Regions from separate parts of the Homo sapiens genome. Here region 1 is linked to region 2. Evidence: promoter capture Hi-C in 16 types of primary human blood cells and fetal thymus (Javierre and others, 2016). All regions are on one chromosome and are shown on one strand. The core of a region is centred on a gene start or on the middle of the fragment in contact, and the rest is flanking DNA. Distances in the headings are between cores, read along the strand shown.

Region 1 (7,038 bases), core at 3,474-5,973, 560 kb after region 2:
CGCTGACTCGCTCTGCTCCCAGACACCTGGGACCATGATCAAGTTTGCCTTCTCTCCCTCGGGTAGTACTGTCATTATTTGTATAATGCATCCACTGCTATGTGGACATGGTAGATGGTTGTAAGATATAAAGAAGTACTGCTCAGAATATAAGTTATGAAACATTTCAGAATAAGGATATAAAAATTGCTGAAGCCATTTCTCCGTGGTAGTCAACCTTCACTTATTATAATATAACTATACCATTTCCAGCCTTTTGTTTCCTAGATGTACTGTTAGGAAATGATTTGCCAGCTAGAGGTGAGTATTTATCTGTCTTGCAAAGGTGAAAGCTTTTGTAAGCTTCACAACAGAGGCAAAAACCATTATGGAGAGAAGCAATGAATTGAACAGCACAGGAAAGAAAGCCTTCTGAATTTACAGAAACTGTAAACAGTAACAAAAGTTAAATGACAAGAGCTTAAGGACTACCTCAGAGTAAAATCCCAACGTGGTTCACTGTAAGGAGGCACAGTGACTCCTACTGCTTTAAAAAAGCAGATGATTAAAAGGTAACTATGGAGCCAGGTGAGGTGGGACACACCTGTGGTCTCAGCGACTTGGGAGGCAGAGGCAGGAGGATCGCTTGAGCCTAGTTTGAGGCTGCAGTGATCATACCACTGCATTCCAGCCTGGGTGACAGAGCAAGAGCGAGACCCTGTCTCTTAAAAAAGAAAAATAGGTTAACTATGGAAAGTGATGAACATGTTAATTTGTTTGACTGCAGTACTATATGTATAACAAGACATCATGTTGTACACCTTGAGTATGCACAATAAAAAAATTAAACGAAAAAATTACTTGATATTATTTTAAAAACAATAAAATAAATTTATTTTATTTTTGAGACAGAGTCTCACTCTGTCGCTCAGGCTGGAGTACAGCGGCGTGATCTCAGCTCACTGCAACCTCTGCCTCCTGGGTTCAAGGAATTCTCCTGCCTCAGCCTCCTGAGTAGCTGGGATCACACCTGTGTGCCACCACACCCAGATAATTTTTGTATTTTTTGTAGAGATGGGTTTCACCCTGTTGGCCAGGCAGGTTGGTCTCAAACTCCTGGCCTCAAGTGATTCACCCTCCTCGGCCTCCCAAAGTGCTGGGATTACAGGTGTGAGCCACTATGCCTGGCCTAAAAACAATAAAATAAATTTGAAAGAAAAACAAAGCAAATGCTCTTCTTAGGAGGCCTACACAGATGACAAAAGGGGCACTGGTGGAAAGATGGTGAGAAGAGGCACAGGGCCCACGTGCCCACTTAGAGTGAGCAGAACAGCAGACTGCCTAAGTTTCCTTCTCTTGAAAAGGACTTCTCAAAATTGAATGCACACTAACCACTCAAGGCTCTTGTTAAAAATGCAGATTCCGGTTCAGCAGGCCTAAGCTGAGGCCAGAGATGCTGCATTTCTAATGAGGTCCCAGGTAACATGGGTGCTATGGCTTCAAAGACCACACTGAGCCGCAAGGTTATAGAAAACATGGTGATGTATATCTAAGCACATTCTTTGCTCTGGCAAAAAAAGAAACAGGACTCAGAAACAGAAACCTGTTAGAATTAGGGGGAAACAAACAAACACGAGGAATAACATGGAATGTATTTACTTACAGGTGACTCTGGGTTTATCCTTGATACCACAAGAGGCATCTTTTGATCCACTCCTCCCTGTAAACATTTTAAAATAAAAACAAAACAAAGTTTTTTAAGTTAAACAAACAAACAAACAAAAAAACGAGTAGCTCACAGCATCAACAACATGGAGGTACCAATAAATGTGAGTCTTTGGTACAGGGAGGCTTCAAACTTCACTATGACTGATTCGAATCACACGTCATTTCAGAAATATGGAACAAATTCCTGACCCCTCTGGATCCAGCGGGCTGACCAGGACTCTGTTCAGAAGCCTCCCTCTGCCATCCCCACAGTCCATGAACTAACAGATACACTCAGAGAGAAGCTCCTCCTTAAAAACGCAGATGCCCCCAGAGAGGGACTCCACAGCATGTCTTCGAGTGCTGCTAGAACAAACCTGCACGTTGTGCACATGTACCCTAGAACTTATAATAATTAAAAAAAAAAAAAAAATATATATATATATATATATATGGGCTTTATATATATATATGGGCTTTAATATATATATATATGGGCTTTATATATATATATATAGGGGCTTTCAGCAGAGGCGAGCGAGGCCTGGGAAGGGGGCACACCCTGTGAGCGCATCTGGCCTGTGAGCGCTGGTCCTCAACACAGCTGCTGGGGCAGATGAGGCTGTGCATGATGGCAGCTGGGGGGTAGGCGACCACCTGCCCTCACTTTGTCCTAGAGTAGGGATGAGTAAACGTTTTCTGTAAAGGGCCAGAGAGGCTTTGTGGGAGTGAGGGCTCTGATTCAACTGCTCAACTCTGCAGTCATTAACCCACCAGTAAACAAATGGCTGTGGCTGTTACCAAAAAAACTAGTTACAGAAACAGATGGGATTTGGCCTGTGGGTTTAGTTTGCAGATCCTGCTTAAAGGTGCCTGGAGGAGAGTGGTGGCCCTGCAGGTTGAACTTGAATTGTTTTTCTCTTATCAGCTTTAGCAATGCTGAGGGGTTCTCTTAATAGCATTCCTGAAGTGGGTAGATCTGTTTGCCAACTGTGTGCCCTCATTTCTGGGAACCTCAGTATTCATTTGCAAAATGGGTTTAAAAATACTGACCTTACCACTTGTTATCAGAACTTAAGAAGGTGCTATGAATCTAGTGGATAGCCAATGCCAGGCACAGAGCAGGCACTTGGCCTTCGGCAGCTGTTAAGGCCACATTAAAAAAAACCTCTCAATTCTAGGCTGGGTGCGGTGGTTCACGCCTGTAATCCCGGCACTTTGGGAGGCCAAAGTGAGTAGATTGCCAGGTGTTTGAGACCAGCTTGGACAACATGGTGAAACCCCATCTCTACAAAAAATATGAAAAAAATTAGCTGGGTATGGTGGTGCATCCCTATAGTCCCAGCTGAGGTGGGAGGATCACCTGAGCCTGGGGAGGTCAGCGCTGCAGTGAGCTGCGATCGTGCCACTGCACTCTAGGTTTGGGCGATAAAGTGAGTTTTTAAAAAAAAACAAAAAAAACCCCAAATATCTCAAACCAAACAAAAACAAAAAAAACCCCCAACTCTCAATTCTGAGGGTTGAACCAACTTCCTTATGTAGCTCAGGAATGCAGCACATTTGTAATGCAAATTAAAAACTCATTGAAAGATTGCTTCCCAGCACAAAACTTCCTTTATAAATACACAACATACCTTAAGATTAAATCCAAATTTTCCATCTTCATCTGGTGTGATACGGATCAAGACTAAGTAGCTGTCACCATTATCATTCTGGAAAACGGTTTGAAAGTGGTCATTTGCATCACATCTCTCTCCAGCAGTTGGTGATAAGATATTTTCATTTAGTTAGAGCTACTCAGCTGCCCACAAGAGGCCGGGAAGCCCTGGGTGTGTGGATCACCCGGCTGCCTGCGCTCGCTCACCTTGTCACAGTAGTACTGGCTGGCGTCCTCGGTGGAGCCCCCTTTGGTCACCCTGTGGAAGTCATCTAAGAGCTGCTGATCAACGCCGTCAGGTGAGCAGGAGCCTGGAGCATTTGAAGATGGAGACACAGAACTGGATGACTTCTGGGTCAGGTAGCTTTGTGCCGGATTGTTCTCGGATAAACTCCTTCATCATGGGGAAGGAGGAGATATTAATAACTGGGTTAATATTTTATTAGAGCAAACACTACTGACTGTAGGGGCCTGGCAGCTGGGGGCTGTATGTTTCCCTGGAACCTCAGCTGCATAGGTTGTCAGCGGGATTTGAGTACACCCAGGGCCCACTGACCACCCCTGACCGCATCTGGCCTAGACACTGTCACATGGTTTTGGGGAAAAGGGATAGGAGGCAGGGTGGATCTGGAAACTGCTGAAAACTTTGCTCCCTTCCCCGCTGCTTTAGAAGGGTGACAGGGAAATGTGTCCAGCTCCTCTGGTGGTTTCATTACTGAACCAGGCTCTGCCAGGCAAGCTCATGCAGATGCACAGCCCATCCCTTCTGAAAGCTTTTTTCCTTCTGTCTCACTTCTGCGGATGGTTCTGCTTCATAGGACTCTTGCCTCCTCAAAGGAAACAGGACTGTTGTTGTTGTGCGTTCAGGAGAATTTATATTATTCCTAGTTGGCATGATTTGCCTGTGACATCCATGAACTGCCACGCTGAGATCTTGTTACATTTTCCTCTATCGAATATAGTTTCTTCTGTATCGTGGAGCTGCACTGTCTAGTATGGTAGCCACTAGTTATATGTGGCTACTTAAATTTAAATAAATTAAGACAAGAAACCAGCCATACTTCACATGCTCACTAGCCATATGCGGCCAGTGGCTCCCGTATGAGACAGTGCAGTCAGAGAACATTTCACCACGGCAGGAAGTCCTGCTGGACAGCGCTGTCTTAGAGAGTTACAGATGATGAAAACGGAACAGAACTTTGTGGTCATTTGTTCTAACTCCCAGTTCACAGATGAAGAAGCTGAGGTCAGGAGAGGCTGAGTAACTTGCCCAGGGTCACATGGCTTTCCCCCGGCTTAGCAGACAGAAACCTGACCGATGTGCGTCCTAAGCCTTTCTTCCCTCTCCAGACCATGCAGAGCCCACTTCCAAGACCCCTATTTCTAACCCCTCAGAGTCACAGGGATTAACCATCCCTGCTGTCACTGTACAGGACAGGACCCTTGAGTCTCTGCATCACCCACACCAGCCCCTTCCGGAGCCACAGGCCCAGCACAGACACCTTACAGAGCTGATGACTATGGGGCTCTCCTACATTCTAAGACTCTGCCCCACCCTAACCTCATCCAAAGTGAAGTGAGGGGAGAAGCGCAGAGACCAAGTCATTCAGTGAAACCCAGACAAAAGACAGCTGCTACTGCCTCTTTCTTGACCTTCATTTCAAGCCCTTATCCATGGATTTTTTATGAAATTGGTGCTTCTCTTTCTCCTAGTGAGTTTAAATGAGCCTAATTTAAATATAAAATCTGTATCATAGTCACACAGAATGATTCATAATCACAATCTATTTGAATAAAATATTCAGTGACAGACCAATGGAGAAACACAGCGATACAGTAGGACAAGAGTCTGGCCTTATGGTGTCCAAGTGGCTGGTTGGGGGTAGGGTGTTATGGATGGGAAGGCATTTCAGAGACAGAGTATTTTGGAATTGAAGTTGTATACAAGTTTTCAGATTGAAAAAGCATGACTTTCACTTACGTAAAAGGAAGCTTTACAAAATTCCCCCCAAATACGGCATCTTTGCTGGGTTTCACTGTTTACAAGAGCATCACCCAGTGGCAGAAAGGGCAACTGCTTGGCAGTTACAAAACAAGTTAAAATGGTATTTCCAGTTCTCGTTCTGTCTGTCTCTGTCTCTGTCTCTACCTCTGTCTCCCTCTCTCTCCCTCCCTGCACCCCCCCAATCCATTTTTTTTTCTTTTGAGGTAGGGTAAAGCTCTGTTGCCCAGGCTGGAGTGCCATTACATGACCACAGCTCACTGCAGCCTCGATTTCCTGACTCAAGAGATCTTCCTATCTTGGTCTCTTGAGTAGCTGGGACCACAGGCATTCGCCATGTCCAACTAATTTTAATTTTTTTTTTTTTTTGAGTCAAAGTCTCGCTCTGTTGCTAGGCTGGAATGCAGTGGTGCAATCTCGGCTCACTGCAACCTCCGCCTCCCGGGTTCAAATGATTCTCCAACCTCAGCCTCCTGAGTAACTGGGACTACAGGTGCCCGCCACCACACCCGGCTAATTTTTTATATTTTTAGTAGAGACAGGGTTTCACCATGTTGGCCAAGATAGTCTCGATCTCTTGACCTCGTGATCCACCTGCCTCGGCCTCCCAAAGTGCTGGGATTACAGGTGTGAGCCACCATGCCCAGCCTTTTAAAAATTTTTTGTAGACACAGGGTCTCACTATGCTGCCTAGGCTGGTCTAGAACTCATGGTCTCAAGCAATCCTCCTGCACTGGCCTCCCTAAGCGCTGGGATTACAGGTGTGAGCCACCATCCCCAGCCCTATTTTTCTTTTTTGATTTAAAACTCAATGGTCTGTCTAAACTAGCCCATGGTACTAAATGACAACAGTACTACTACTATTACTATTGCTGCTAGTACTAATACTATATTCCAAGTCATTTTATGCCCTAACCTATTTTTTTTTTTTTTTGAGACAGAGTCTTGCCCTGTCGCCCAGGCTGGAGTGCAGTGGCACAGTCTCAGCTCATTGCAAGCTCAAGCTCCACCTGCCAGGTTCACACCATTCTCCTGCCTCAGTCTCCCATGTAGCTGGGACTACAAGCACCTGCCACCAATGCCTGGCTAATTTTTTTTTTTTTTGTATTTTTAGTAGAGATGGGGTTTCACCATGTTAGTCAGGATGGTCTCGATCTCTTGACCTTGTGATCTGCCCGCCTCGGCCTCCCAAAGTGCTGGGATTACAGGCATGAGCCACCGTGCCCGGCCTGCCCTAACCTATTTTCTAAGCAGGGTTGGAGGGGTTACTCTTAGTCATTTATTTCAACAAATGGCTGATTTTTGGCCTGCTCAACTGTGTACACAGGTGCTCTGTAGGGCGCGGTGATATTCTGTTCAGTGTGCAAGATGGACAGACAGACGAGGAAGAGGACATCAAATGAGGAGATGCAATGAGTAAGTGGCAGCTGGCCACAGCACAGGGTGGCCAGGGGTGAAGGCACCAAAGCCCTAGTGCCTCCTCTGTCGCTGGGCAGAATGCAGTGCGGCTGAGGAGCGCAGGGGAGTTGCCCCATGAATTCCACAAGTGGAGTGAAGAAAGGGGCAGGATGAGGGATGCAAGAAGATGGTGAGGATGGGATGGAGCCAATGACAAGGGGGAGGAAGGAGCAGAAGAGGTTTGTCCCTGAGGCAGGACGGGGAAGACACCATGGAAGAGCCAGTGTGGGACTGA
Region 2 (7,228 bases), core at 4,313-6,812:
CTGCCTGGACAGTGAGGAAAACAAGCCTCTTGCCATGTGGAAGTGGTAGGACTTCACCACTTGATGTCACTCTAATGCTTATGTCTCTGGAAGGTTCCAGCAAGACAAATCTCTTCTTTGCTAAAAGATTGGCATTTTTAACTTTGAAACCTCAGGATAATGACTATGAAATTACATCAAATTTGTTGTACATGATTTGAAAGCAATTTTTATATGTAAATTTTTCTTCTTGGAAAAGAGATTGATAATTTTCAGAAAAGTAGGAGACAAGGGCAAAAAGGCATTGTGGAATCTCAAAACTTCGATTTAGCACAAGACTTTGGTTTACCAGATGGGTGACCTTGCACAAGACTCCTAACCTTTCCAAGCCTCAGTGTCCTCACCTGTAAAATGGGGGGAAATACTGTAATGTCCACCTCACAGACTGGGAATAAATGAGTTCATTTGGCATGTACTAAGCACCAACTCTGTGCCATGCTCTGCACCAGACTCTGAGAAAACTAAAATGAGGGAAGCACAGTTCCTGCCCTCAAGAAGCTCTGAGTCTAGCCTTAGGGACAAATATCTAAGAAGTGAATATATAAGATAGCAGTCAACAGACACTCTTTGGTCTCTGCCTTCAGTGTAGTATGTTATCTGATATCCTCTGGTACCTTGATAAAAATTATTCTTATGTAGTTTCTTCGTAAGGAAAAAATGAATTGTTGGTCTTAATATTTCAATTAAAAGAGGCCTCTCCAACCCCAGTCTCTTCTCCATGCAAACCTGCTCCAGAGGAATGCTGTTGTTGAGAAGGAAATTGACGCAGCTAGAATGCTCTCAGTTGCAAGTAACAGACACACAACCCTAAGGCACATGAATGATGAAGTTGAATGCATGGCTCACAGAACTGAAATACCTGGGAGTGGGTTCAAACTCTAGGCATGGTTTGATTCAGAGGTTCACTTCGTCCCCAGGGCACCAGCTTTGTTTCTCTGAGCTCCACAATCCTTGGTGGGTCAGCTTCAAGCTGGCTTCTTTCCTAGTCATAAATGCCACAGCAGTGCTAGGACACACCCCTCAACTTCACATCAAGCTTCCAAGCAAAAAGCGTAGGATTCACTCTCCAGGACTCACTCTACTGAGATCGCATGTTCACCCAGAACCAATCATTATGGCCAAGGAGATGGATGCTCCGACTGGCTGAGCCTAAATCACATGCTCTGCCCTCGGTGCTGGAAGGGAAGTCAGTCCTGGGCCACGTCCGATGCCCATGCAGAAACCAGGAGTTGTGGAAAGTGATAACAGGAAAGTTGGAGGCATCAACTATTCTACCTCGGGAATATGAGCTAGTCCCAAGTGTGATTCCTGGTCTGGAGAAGGGACAAGGGGGTGCAGGTGAGGCTCCTTGTCTGTTCTTCACATGCTTCCCTCCTCCTTTTTCTATACCAGCACCACTTTTAGAGAGAGAATTCAACTTCTTTCTTCCTAAGAAACATACCTGTAGAGGCAGCCAGTGTTCTTACCCCTCTCTCTACCTGTGAGCATGGAAAGCCACAATTCTTCAGATAGAGACCACGGGCACCACCCCTCCTCAGCCCGTTCCCACTCTCACATGCTTCACTGCTATGTCTTTCCTGTCTGGCATTTCCAAGTTGCAAATTCCTGCCCATTCTGCAGGACAGGAAATTCCTACCCTTGCTTCTTTCCTTGGTTCCCACCTCCACTCTCTTTCTTCCAGAATCAGGTAGAAATCTCTAGTCCCTGTAGTTCCCCTACCATTCTCTTTATTTGCACTGAGCTTATGCATTTATATTCTCTACTATGACTCCATGGAATCTGAGAAGGGAGGGGAGATAAACACACAGGGTCAGGAGGTCATCTTAAGCTGGAAGTCACTGACCCGTGTTTTTCCACCAAAAATAAATCTCCTGCTGAATCCTCTGGTTAGCTTAAATAAGTTCATGTCAGGGATCTAGCAATTAGTGTTTTTACAGCCCCTGCCACATGAGGGATGCTTTTGAGGAGATGACCATGTGTTGGAGGGACTGAAGCAGTGACTAGAGACAGGAGAAGTTGCTGAAGATGTGTGGAGTGAGGAGAGGAGATAAGGAGGGAATGGGGTTCACACGTAGCACTTACTGCGTGTGTGATTTGGGATATATCACTTTCCCTCTATAAGCCTCAGCTTCCCTCTCTGTATTTCATCAGGCTTTTTACAATCACTTGGGTTACAAGCAACAGAAACTAATGCTAAGGAAGAAGTTGTGTTGAAGCAGCAAATATATATGAAGACATCAGTGTGGCAGGGACGTTGGCAACCTCGAAAATGCAGCCCCACAGAAAAAAATTCACATTCAAGAAAACACTTGTACACTGTGATGGCCACATGAAACATGTCTATTGGCCACCTTCAGCCTCCAGGCCTCCAGTCTGCAACATCCCTCTATAGGAAAGAGCCCAGGTTCCATGCCTGCTGCCAACGCCCTGTTTGACCAGGGGTATTCAAACTCCAGGCTAGATGCCCAATTCTGGACAATGGGGAAGGACTAAAGAGCAGGGCCTTAGGTGATAATGACTATGTCTGGTTCTTGCCCAAGTCTGCAGCCCCCAGCACTGGGCCCAGGACAGAGGCAGCCTCATGGGGTGCCCCAAATCAGGACCCTTTGCTTAAGGTAAGAGGTGACTCAGGGATATTTAAGTCTCAGCCCATCCAAGACTATGCAGCTCATGGATGTCTGATCCCATAGATGGCACCAACTGGGTCATGAACTCCATTGGAAGGTGAGGGTAGGGAAGGGGGCAGGAACCCACTCTTCTAAGTAGGCAGTTAGTCACCAGCTGAAATCTCACAAGCCTCCACAGCCTCTCCCTCAGCCCCAAAGCCAATAAGTGGACACCATGCCCAGCAACTTCTCCACTTACAACATTCCAATGCATCACCACTACCTTCTCACCACCGTGAACACTTAGCTCAGACCTTGACTCCCTACCAATGTGGTTGTCCATTAGCTGTGTGTGATTGCCAAGGGTAGAGACTGTGTTCTGCTCATTTCTCAGTCCCCAGCACTGGGCCTGACCCACAGTACATGCATGGTAAGTGCTTTGGGTTGCTGACTAACCATTAAGAACCATGTTTATACCCTTATGGGAATAATCCTGATGTGGATCAGGAGACCTGGGCTCAACCACTGGCATTAAGCTGGCTCTCTCCTCTCTGGTCTCAGTTTACCTATCTCTCTTTTTTTTTTTTCTTTTTGGACATGGAGTCTTGCTCTGTTGCTCAGGCTGTAGTGCAATGACGCAACCTCAGCTCACTGCAACCTCCGCCTCCTGGGGTCAAATGATTCTCCCTGCTCAGCCTCCTGGGGAAGCTGGGATTACAGGTACCCACCACCATGTCCAGCTAATTTTTGTATTTTTAGTAGAGACAGGGTTTCACCATGTTAGCCAGGCTGGTCTCGAACTCCTGACCTTAGGTGATCCACCTGCCTCGGGTTCCCAGAGTGCTGGGATTACAGGTGTGAGCCACCGCACCCAGCCCAGTTTCCCCATCTCTATAGCCGGGAGAGGACCCGATTTCTAAAGGACCTTCTGGTTCCTCTGACATCCTCTGGAATCAGTGGCTCTGCTTTGTGACTCTGGAAAAATAGCTGCAATTTTGGCTGTGGTTGAAAGGGGTACGCCCACAGATGGGTTGAAATGGCACTTCACACTCTGGAGATGCACTGGCACAGCCTTAGGCTCCCATATTGAGGGTGGCAGGCACTAGGGGGAGGTTAGGGAACCTGGAGTGATCAGGCAGTGTTAAGGTTGGGAGCACTTGTGAACAGCAGAAACAGGAGACTGGAGTCGGACACCCAGCTGTGCATCTCCTCCAACCTACCGCTAGGTGACCCAAGCTAGTCCCTTCATCAGAGCCAACCCCCTTAGTTGAGCCAGCGATGAGGAGTGTCTTTGGATCAGGTTTTGAACCTGGAGGTACTAATAAAACAGGAGGCCACTTTCTAGGCCCTGAGATGATGTCACTATCATGAGGCAGGCAGAGGGGGTGGGATCAGTATGGTAGCCCCCTTCCTTACAGCCCCCACCTCCAGTGCAAAAGGTGCTGCCGCTTCTAAGCCCGACTCCCCCCTACCCTCTGCTATCAGATAGAAGCAAGAAACCCAGACTAGACAAGAGCCATTTCAGAGTAAACCTTTATGTGAAATTCTGTAAATGTGTATAGAGAGGCCTGTGGCCATCTGTGCTGGAGGCCTTGTCTGTGGAAATGCCGAGGCTCAGCACTTGCTGTAGATGGCCACGCTGCCCCGCTCCTCAAACTCTTCCTTGCTGACCCAGAGCTGTTGGAAGGCCTGCAGGGAGGCCAGGATGGAACCGCCGGTCCACACGGAGGTCTTCCTCTCAGGAGCGGCAGCCACTGCAGGGCTGTCCCCGGGGCAGAGGAGGCTCAGCTCCCTCTGGAAGCGCTCGGGGAAGCCATCCAGCATAGTGCAGCCGCCACACAGTAGCACGTTGGCGGCCATCTCCTCCTTGAAGCCCGTGTCCTGGCAGCGGCCCAGGCAGGCAGCTGTGAGCTCCGGGAGGCCCGGCTGGGTGCTGCCTGCCAGGGAGGGCTGGAAGAGCATCTCAGAGCAACGGAAGCGCTCCTGGCCAATAGTGATGAGTTTGCCGTCCGGGAGCTCGTAGTCCACGCGCAGCTCCTCCGGGACCAGGCCCAGCTCCTCCTCGGGCAGGAAGGCCGCATAGCAGCACTTCTTCTTGATGTGCTCTATGATGTGCAGGTGGTCGTCCGTGAATGCGTGGCCCGCCTCATTGAGCAGCTGCATCAGGTAGTTGGTGAGGTCACCCCCAGCGTAGTCGGCGCGGCTGGTCAGGCCCGGCAGCACGTCGCCCTCGGATATGGGCACCACGTGCGAGACGCCGTGCCCGCTCTCCACCACCAGCCCCGAGGTCTTGCCGTAGGAGTAGATGGACAGCAACGACTGGGACGTCACGTGCATGGCTGGGATGCCGAAGGTCTCAAACATGAGCTCCGCGTACTTCTCCCGGTTGCTGCTGGGGCTGAGCGGAGGGTCGGAGACCAGCACAGCGTGCTCCTCGGGGAGGATCTTCATGGCGGTGCGGAAGATGTACTCCCAGATGTCCTGCACGCAGTCCCAGTCCACCACGATGCCGTGCTTCAGCGGGTTCACCAGCTTGAGAGGCGCCTCCGTGTTGAGCAGCTCATGGCCCACTAAAGTCCACTTGCGGGTGTCGCCAGCGTCGGCCGCCTCGGGGCAGCGTTTGCCCACGGTGGAGGAGATGAAGTAGGTGGGCCTCGGCTCTCCCGCGTAGCCGCACTTGCAGTACTGGGAGCCCAGGTCGATGATGACCGCCTTGATCTTGTGCACCTTCCTGGGCTTCATCTTGAGCTGAGTGGCCGCACCTGTGTCCCGGAGGCTGGCGTCAGGGCCGGGCCGTGTTCCTGCCTCTCCAGGGTCACCCTGAGCCGTGCCCAGGGGCATGGGGCTGTTCCTTGTCGCCATCTGCCTCCCTTGCTCCCCTTCTCACATCCACAGCCTAGAGCCCCCTGGGGAGAAATGAGATCCCCCACCTCCAGCAGTGCCATGACAACCACCCGGGATTGTGATGTCACTCGGGGCTGGTCCATTCAGGCAGCAGGGGAGGGCCTGGCTTTGGTCGGTTCTTGGTGTGTCACCCCCACCTCTCTAACTCAAGTTTGCTCCCGGACAGAGCAGGTGGCCGGCAGTTTTAGAAATCCAAGCACACTAGGGTCTCAGAGGTTTCTGCTCAGCCCCCTTGCATTTCCATGCCTAACCTGTTCACTACTGGACACCTTTCCTCTTCTGCTTCTTGGTGGAGAGGGCCTATTTGAGCCCCTCCAGTAAGGCAGGCACTGTACTAGTTACTTCACTTATGTTGTTCTGCAGGTAGGCAGAGCTGAGGAAATGAGGCTCAGAATTCTAAGGACTTGCCCAAGAGCAAACAGCACTTGGGGTGTTTGTACCTTAACCCAAATTCATCAAACTCCAATGCACCAGGCCTCCTTAACCGCCCCAAGAGTTCTTTCCTCCCTTCACTCCACATTTACTGGAGTATATAGTAGGTCCCGCCCAGTGCAGCCTGCCAGTGATAGATGATTAAAAACCCAGGCCACCAGCAGTGCCCAGTCTAGACAAGAAAATGGAATGGGTGCCGATGGGTTTGCAGGAAGAAGTCTACTTGGAGAACTCATTTGAGACAGGCAGTCAGAAGGTGCTCTAGAGAGGAGGTGATGCTTAAGTTGAATCCTGGAAGAGGTGTAGGTATTTGTCAAGTAGTTAAGAGGAGGGGAAGACATCCCAGGCAGAGAGCACAGCTTGAGCAAAGGCTCAAATGGAGGCACGGTGAAGAACTTCCCACAGTCAAAGTGTTTGGAAAAACAGATGAAGCTAGAGAAGTCACAGAGCCAAATAGAAAGGGCATCAAATGGCAGGAGTAGGTTTAGACTAAACTGAGGAGAGCCAGGGAAGCTATGAAGACTTTAAGCAGGGGAATGATCAGATTTGCCCTCTAGAAAAATGTTAGAAAGGGCCGGGCGTGGTGGCTCATGCCTGTAATCCCACCAGCACTTTGGGAGGCTGAGGCAGGTGGATCATGAGGTCAGGAGTTCAAGACCAGCCTGGCCAAGATGGTGAAACCCCATCTCTACTAAAAATACAAAAATTAGCTGGGCATGGTGGCGGGTGCCTGTAATCCCAGCTACTTGGGGGGCTGAGGCAGAGAATTGCTTCAACCTGGGAGGCAAAGGTTGCAGTGAGCTGAGATCGCACCACTGCACTCCAGCCTGGGAGACAGAGTGAGACTCCATCTCAAAAAAAAAGAAAAGAAAAATAAAAATGTTAGAAAGATCTGCATTGGGCTGTAATGTAGAGAATGGATGGGAGGGGCAAGACTAGAAACTGAGACCCGAAACGAGGCCATTGGAGAACTTCTGATAAGACTTGAAGGTGGCCTGACCTAGGGCTGTGAGAGTGTGGAAACAAGGAAGAGCCTAGTTCTAGAGAAACTTAGAAAGTAGAATAGAATCCAATCTGTTTTTTCCCCAACCATCCCTCACTTTAATCCAAGCTCTTACTCTGACATTTCAGGGCTTCCCTCATGGGCTCCTGTGATGTGGGATGTGAGGCAGAGGGAAGGATGAATCGCTTACTTGTACCCGGGCAAAGAAAGATGGCCTGTCATCCAGAAAGGACAAATTCACGAG

The links. The method cuts DNA at HindIII sites, captures the fragments that hold promoters and counts their contacts. A CHiCAGO score of 5 or more calls a contact.
Region 1: a contact is called between a fragment that was not itself captured here and the fragment with the promoter of ACTL7B in region 2, in 1 of 17 cell types (endothelial precursors). The highest score is 5.1, in endothelial precursors.

The regions. Positions count from the first base shown.
Region 1 is chr9:109,406,679-109,413,716 of GRCh38, forward strand. It overlaps PTPN3 (protein tyrosine phosphatase non-receptor type 3), which reads right to left. Exons shown (of 26, transcript NM_002829.4): 15 at 3,551-3,737; 16 at 3,321-3,398; 17 at 1,643-1,699. Among named protein-coding and RNA genes, the nearest start is that of PTPN3, 88 kb to the right of the region's middle. RefSeq lists enhancers at 4,537-4,656, 5,177-5,276. The HindIII fragment of the contact is 1,219 bases long and covers 4,115-5,333 here.
Region 2 is chr9:108,850,424-108,857,651 of GRCh38, forward strand. ACTL7B (actin like 7B) reads right to left here and starts at 5,563. Exons shown (of 1, transcript NM_006686.4): 1 at 4,165-5,563. The coding sequence starts at 5,507. The coding sequence ends at 4,260. The HindIII fragment of the contact is 8,235 bases long and covers 1,074-7,228 here.